Regions from separate parts of the Homo sapiens genome. Here region 1 is linked to region 2. The links are contacts of gene promoters, found by promoter capture Hi-C in human tissues and cell types (Jung and others, 2019). All regions are on one chromosome and are shown on one strand. The core of a region is centred on a gene start or on the middle of the fragment in contact, and the rest is flanking DNA. Distances in the headings are between cores, read along the strand shown. Region 1 has its middle 33 kb from the start of ALDH3A2. Region 2 holds the start of SLC47A2 (solute carrier family 47 member 2).

Region 1 (3,395 bases), core at 207-2,706, 100 kb before region 2:
TTACTAGTCTGTTTATACTTAGGAATGAATGAGTACATTGATTTATCAAACAAATGGCCGGCATAGCTTTCCTCTCCTATTATTTGGAGATTTTTCTCCAACAGGCCTCTCCCCAAAATGGGAAGGACCAGTGGGGAACTCGGTACCAAGGTGGTACCTGTCCAGTGACATCTTCATTTTAGGACTTATGGGTGAGGATTAGGCAGTAGGCAGCCTGACCTCCTGCCCCACCTTATCCCCATGTCCCACCTATCCCCCAAAACAAAAGAAGAAGGGCCTGACTCACGCCACGGAGGAAGCTCCACACTTGGCTTTTCTGTGTCAGCCCAGCTTCTTGTGTGCAGTAAGGCTAAGGACGGGCAGGTCGCGGGGCTTGGGTGTCCTGTCCCAGCCCTGTGGCGCATCTCCCTGACTGCTCTTCTTCACAGCCTCGGTGGGGGGAAGCAGGGCGTCAGTGCTCCTGGAGCTCTACTGGGAAGACGGAGTGTGAGGCAGCATTCTGTTCATGTTCTGTGCTGTGGCTTCCTGCGTTTCTGCCCTTGGATCATGGCTGTGGAGCCTGCTTTCCCTCTTCCAGAAGCTGACCGGCTCTCATTCTCAGTGTTGTTAATGAATTTATTTTCTATTAAGCATGGAGATTTATTTTCCATTAACAGTGTTTTGGGAGGGAAGGGAGTTAGGCATGTGATTCATTCATTTTGAACTGGAAGCCAGTTATGTGTACTTTAGGCATGCAAATCTTAAGAGATGTTTATATACTCATACTCAGGTCTGTTTTTTTTTTTAAGTTCTTTTTTTTTTTTTTTTTTTTGAGATGGAGTCTCACTCTGTAGCCCAAGCTGGAGTGCAGTGGCACAATCTTCGCTCACTGAAACTTCCGCCTTCCGAGCTCAAGCGATTCTCATGCCTCAGCCTCCCGAGTAGCTGGGACTACAGGCGCGTGCCACCATGCGTGGCTAGTTTTTTGTATTTTAGTAGAGACAGGGTTTCACCATGTTGCCCAGGGTGGTCTCGAACTCCTGAGCTCAGGCGATCTGTCAGCCTTGGCACCCCAAAGTGCTAGAATTACAGGCATGAGCCACCGCGCCTGGCCTCAAGTTCTTAATCTTAACAATTTAATATATATTTTTATCAACTGAACTTAGGCTAGTTTTCAAAACAGTAATGAATTAGAAGGCTTTTGGGAGGATGCTGTTTCTAGTAGGAATGAGAAGTTAGAGCTGATGTACGAGTGATTAAAAGTGAACTTGAGAGCCCAAAGCTAAGTTGTCTGTACAACCCACGTTACCCTCGCAGCCCCTGGGGGCAGCATTGTATTGCAGGATCATGATAGGGGTCAAGAAGGTGGCCCCAAAGGTTGAGTGGTGGTCTATTTAAGAAGCAAATAAGCTTATAGCTTTAGATTTTCATAATCAATGATTAAAATTAAGCCTTTGCATTTGAAGGGGCCTCTTTCAATTTACCGGATAATCAGACATATGGAATGTTTCACCCATCCCACCAAAAACGAGGTATTGTCGTGGAGTCAGATTTCATCAATGTCTGGGGTTCCTACAGTGTGCCAGGCGCGGTTCTAAATGCTTTTTCACATGGGTCATTTAATTTTTACAAATTATTTGTATACTAACGTTTATACTAAGTTAAATCTTACTTTGTATAATGTAGCTAAGTTGAATTGTCTTGATAGTGTGTGTGTAGCCAATAAAGGGGGTGTGTTGCCCTCAAATCCAGCTTCATTACGAGGTTCTGCTGTGATGAATGTGGTACAGGGAGCCGTCAGGGCAACTGTCATGCTTCCTTACCTGCAAAGAAATCGGATGTCACATGGCTAAGCAATTTGTCCACAGTCACACAGCTAGGATGTAAGAGAGCCAGTTCTAGAACTCAGCTCTCCGGGTCTGTCCTGTTTCCATTTAGTTAGACGCTAGTGCACTAATACTCCAATGTTCAGGCTTTACGACTGTGATTTATGCTTCTTAATTCTCAGGTACCCCTGGGCCTTGGAGTTGCAGCCAGCATCCGAGTGGGCAATGCTCTGGGGGAAGGGAATGTAGAGGAGGCTTGGTGCTCCTGCACCACAGTTCTCCTGTGTGCTGGTGAGTCAAGCATTCTACTCCCTGGCATCTGTGCTGAACTTAGTGTGCTAAGTTAAAATCTATGTATCAGAATTTCTCTAGGAATTGAATCATATATATATATTCAACTAAAACATCTATTCTTTATGCTCTTTCAAATTTACAAAGTTAAATAAAGCTTTTAATTATGATTTTCTGTTAATGATAAACCAACTAAATAATGTTACACTTGGTTCTACTGAAATAATTCTAAAGACCAGGTTCAAGCAATTCTCTTGCCTCAGTCTCCCAAGTAGCTGGGATTACAGGCACGTGCCACCACACCCAGCTAATTTTTGCATTTTTAGTAGAGATGGGGTTTCACCATGTTGGCCAGGCTGGTCTTGAACTCCTGACCTCAGGTGATCTGCCTGCCTCGGCCTCCCAAAGTGCTGAGATTATAGATGTGAGCCACCACGCCTGGCCCAGTTTTATTATTTTCAAGTGTGCTTTCCTAGTGTCATCTGACCTCACTGATTTTAGACCAATGCCTAAACGTATTCTTATAAAATCTCAGGACCAAGGAGGTGATCAGATGGAGTAATAGGGACTGGATTTACCTTTCTGCTTTAAACAACTAAAAACTGGCCAACACATACATATAATATGTATATATATGTATGTATATATAATATATAATATGTATATATTATGTATGTATATATAATATATAATATGTATATATTATGTATGTATATATAATATATAATATGTATATATTATATATGTATGTATATATGTATAAATGTATATGTATATATGTACATTATATATATATATATTAAAATATATATATATATTTTAAAATAGTTTTCAATCCCTTGAGGCCAGGAGTTTGAGACCAGCATGGGCAACATAGCAAGACCCATCTCTACAAAAACTACAAAAATTGCCTAGATGTGGTGGCACATGCTTGTAGTCCCAGCTCTGTGGGAGGATCACCTAAGCCCAGGAAGTTGGGGCTGCAGTGAGCCATGATTATGCTACTGCACTCTAGCCTGGGTGACAGAGCAAGGCCTTATCTTAAAAAAGAAAAAAGTTTTCAGACATTGGACAACAGGCAGCCCAAAGAGGGGAAAAAAATGAGAGAACACTATGATTACCCAGTGTACTAGGGGAGAGTTTCCAGGCCATAGCACAGGAAGAGGGAAAGCCCTGCTATCTCTGTGAGATGAAGAAATGGAGTTGGGAGTTTTGGGAGGCCATGTGACTTGAGTTCACAAGGCAGGGGACCAGAGAGGAGAGAGTTTGAGAGGGAGTGCTTTCAAGATCTTGGCTGGG
Region 2 (3,791 bases), core at 899-3,398:
GAACCGGTTGTCTTTCTCTACTTGGTGACCTCCTCTGGGGGCAAGAGATCAGAGAACTGTCTCCACCATCTCCACCCCTTTCTCCTGGCCCAGACTCTTTCAAAGGGGAGGGTCTGTTTCCCTGACAGCCTGTGGTCCTTGGAGGTAGGGCAGGGGCAGCTGACCCCAGGGCCCATTGCTCCCAGATCACCTGGCTGCGCCCCTCCCACCTGCCATCTCCATGGCACCTGTGGAATTGGCTCTGCCCTTGCCTGGCTTCCTGCCCAGCTCCAGGAGGCCACCCACCTGAGACATCAAGGTGTCACATGCCGAAGACAAACCAACTCCTACAGAAACTCCGCAGACATTGACAAACTGGCGCCACACACAGGAGGAAACAAGAGCTTGTCAGGTGAGGCCTGAAGAGAGGCCCCTGCATCTGGGCTGAGCCAGGGTCAGGAAATGCTGCCCAGCAGGCAGCGGTGGCAGAGGCTCTGCTCAGCAGCCTCATGTGCTGTGTGCCCCAGGGCCAGACCGCCTCCATCTCCGGCCCTCAGGTTCCACCTGTGAAGGCAGCTGTCCAGCCACGTGGGCTGTGTCTTCCCATCCCTGACCAGCCACCCAAGACGGGCCCACCCGGGAACCCGGTGGAGAAGCCTGGGGAGAGAACGTCCCTGCTCTGGGCCAAGCTGGGTACTCACGGCCACCGCGAGGGTCACCGATGCCAGCTCCACCTTGCCCAGGTGCCCGCAGAACACAGTGCTCACGATGTAGATCATAAAAGTCAGCACCTGGAACAGGAACTGGAGGACAGCGGCCAGGTCAGACTCGGGGCCACAGGTGCCCACACAGCCGAGCCCTGCAAGACAGGCCTCTCCAGCTTTGAGGGCCCCGCACCAGTGCCCCGAGAGGTCACCTACGCCTGGGGAAGCCAGGGCTGGAGGTCGGATGACCTAGCCCAGCTCCCATTCTGCGTTCTGCAGCTGCAGTCACGCCTGGCCTCCACGTCCCTACCCAGAAGGGTCAGTGCCTGGCGCAGCGCAGTGCCTGGCGCCCTGAGCTTGACCCAAGTGTCTGATACTGCTATTGCAGTTCCTATTATAACAATAATTTGGTCAGGCCGCACACCCCCAAAAAAGGAGGGGAATTAAATACACCAAAATCTTAGTAATGGCTATTTCCAAGTACTAGGATTTGAGTTAAATTTCTTTCTTCTTTATATCTTTCATTTTTTTCTAAAAGTTTTACAGGAAGTGCAATTCCATTACTCCTTTTTGGTTTTGTTTTTTTTGTTTTTTTTTTTTTTTTTGAGACGGAGTTTCGCCCTTGTTGCCCAGGCTGGAGTGCAGTGGCGCGATCTCGGCTCACTGCAACCTACCCGTCCCGGGTTCAAGCGATTCTCTGCCTCTCTCTCCCAAGTAGCTGGAATTACAGGCGCCCGCCACCATGCCTGGTTAATTTTTGTATTTTTAGTAGAGTCGGGGGGTTCTCCATGTTGGCCGGGCTGGTCTCCAACTCCTGACCTCAGGTGATCCTCCCTGCTCGGCCTCCCAAAGTGCTGAGATAACAGGCGTGAGGCAGCACGCCCAGCCTATTCCTCTTCATGATCAGAAAAAATAAATGTATTTAAAACAATTTCCCCTTTGGAAATGAAATGGGTAGCCGGCCCCTTCTTCCCCCTGCGAAGGTGCTGCAGGCTTCATGCATCTCTGGGTCCCATTTGTCCTGGAGCCATCTTCCAACTCAGGCTTTTGTGGGTTTCCAGCTGAGGCACACCCACCCCTTCTGTGTGGGGGCTGCCTGCTGCTGAGCAAAGTCAGGCCCCACTGCCACTGGGGATTGTCCAGAGACAGCTTTCAGGAGCCATCCTGCTGTCCCCAGACTCTGGACCTGGCAGTCAACATGGGCAGTTTCTGGGGAAAATGTGAGCACATTTCTGGATCCTGCCTGCAAGGCAGACACCCTCAGCCTCTCAGCTTCCTCCACTCCCTACCTGCCCCCCAGCTCCTCCTCCTTACCAGGGGTCCAGAAAGGGCAAAGAGAGTCCACATCTCAGTCCCAAAGCCTCTGGGAACCAGCCTGCTGAGGGCAGGGCAGCAGCCCCCATGGTCCAGGGCCACTGTGTCCTGGAGGCTGTCCATTCCTGGCCGGGGCACTGGCTACCCTGCACGCCTGAGCGCCTGCACGGCCAGCTTTGTCCAGCGAGCCACCCCCTGCCTGGGCAGCCCGTGTCGGTACAGCCTGGCTGATGAGTAAGGGGCAGGAGGAGGGGCTACCATGGCAACTTGTGGGATGAGCCCTGCCTCCTAGGGCACTGAGTCCCTGCTGCCAAGCCTACTGCCTCAGCCACTAGGGAGGACAGGTTCCTGGGAGTCACCCAGACCGCTGCCTGTTGTGTCTGGTCTCCCAGAGGGATTGGCAGTAAGGCCTCAGCAGGAGAAGGTCCAGGGCTGCCTGCAGTGGCTGTGGGAGGTGTGCTGAGGCCAGGACAGGGCAGCCTGGCTGGGGCAGCTGAGCCACTGGGCGTCCTGTACCCGGGCGTGATGGTGCCCACAGTGACTCCCGTTTTTCAGAAGAATTGGTGGCCTGCCCGAAGTCACAGAGCAGGTGGTGGCAGAGCCTGAACAGCCCTCAGCCCTGCTTTTCCCTGGGAGGGGTGGCTTCCCAAGAGACAGGGGCCTGGCAAACCCCATGGCAGTGCGGTCCCTAGCCTTTCATGCTGGAGGGGCCTGGGCCTGGGCCTGGGGATAGGGATGGGAGCTAGGACACCTCGGCGGAGTCCCAAGCCCCCCACTGCCCGTCACCCCTTTCAGCAGCATATCTGAGAGCCAGGGGTGGCAGTGCTTGGGAAAGCAGCTCACTATGCACGCCAGTCACTGTGCCCAGCAAGGCTGTGACTCGACGTCCCACAGGGTCCTCTGTCACCTTCCCAAATTGCCCTCTCTGCTTTTCCTTGCAGGGATGGCCTGTGACTCCCCCCTCAACCTGCCTCAAGACCAGCAGGGCAGTGGGAACCAAGAGAGGCATCTAAGGATTGCACCGGTCACCTAGCCCAGTCCTGGATCAAGCTTTTGGGTGTGGTTCAGCCCAGGAGAAGGAGGAGTGAGCGAGGGGGGCAGGAAGACAGCAGGCAGGCTGGCCAGTGGCTGTGGGAGGGCTGAAGACATCCCAAAGGCCCCACTTGGTTCCCATGTCCACCCCTGCAGCGGAGGAGTGGCCGGCAGGATTCCGAGATGCAGCCCCCAGAGCCGCGAGGAGGAAGGAGCAGACCCTGAAGGAGAGGAGGCAGGACAAATACAAAAAAAAAAAAAGGGTTTGCTACACCCATGGGCGGCCCCAAACACAGGCACAGCCCCACCCCAGTCAACACGCAGCCTTCTTTTTTGACACAGAATTCTGAAACGCTCCACTGGATCCTCCCAGGATCACCTGGGAGGTCACATTCCTGCCCTTGTTCTGATGGTTCTTATCACAGCACTCTCCAACCTGTGCACCAAATAGTACCTTTACCACCTGCCTAGAGGAAAGAAGACATTTTATCACCATCGTGATTGTGATGATGACACCAAACAGGAGGAAGTACAGGTGAAAGCTACAGCCCTGCAGGCCAGGCTATTGCTAGTATGTCTGACTTCCCTCCTCCAACACCTTCTCCACGTCCTTCTCACCTTTGGCCAGTTCTCATGGTCAGCCTACCTCTTCCAAAAGGGCAGCCGCAAATCCTCCTGCATCCAGGGGACCTGGGCCTGGGGTCTCTGTTATGTGAAACCAGCTGCTTCCAGCTGACAGGGCCTCTGGGGAGAGCAGTCACC

The links. Contacts are between HindIII fragments. The study calls those that stand out against the background at their distance.
Region 1: a fragment that was not itself captured here is called in contact with the fragment with the promoter of SLC47A2 in region 2 in 2 of the 25 tissues and cell types used here (mesendoderm cells and thymus).

Annotation. Positions count from the first base shown.
Region 1 is chr17:19,613,801-19,617,195 of GRCh38, forward strand. No RefSeq gene overlaps it. Among named protein-coding and RNA genes, the nearest start is that of ALDH3A2, 33 kb to the right of the region's middle. The HindIII fragment of the contact is 3,298 bases long and covers 1-3,105 here.
Region 2 is chr17:19,714,436-19,718,226 of GRCh38, forward strand. It overlaps SLC47A2 (solute carrier family 47 member 2), which reads right to left and starts at 2,149. Exons shown (of 17, transcript NM_001099646.3): 1 at 1,998-2,149; 2 at 681-782; 3 at 286-354. The coding sequence starts at 2,120. It overlaps LOC124903948 (a long non-coding RNA gene), which reads left to right. Exons shown (of 2, transcript XR_007065659.1): 1 at 1-800; 2 at 2,939-3,791. RefSeq lists enhancers at 1,627-2,476, 2,477-3,324. The HindIII fragment of the contact is 9,747 bases long and covers 1-3,791 here.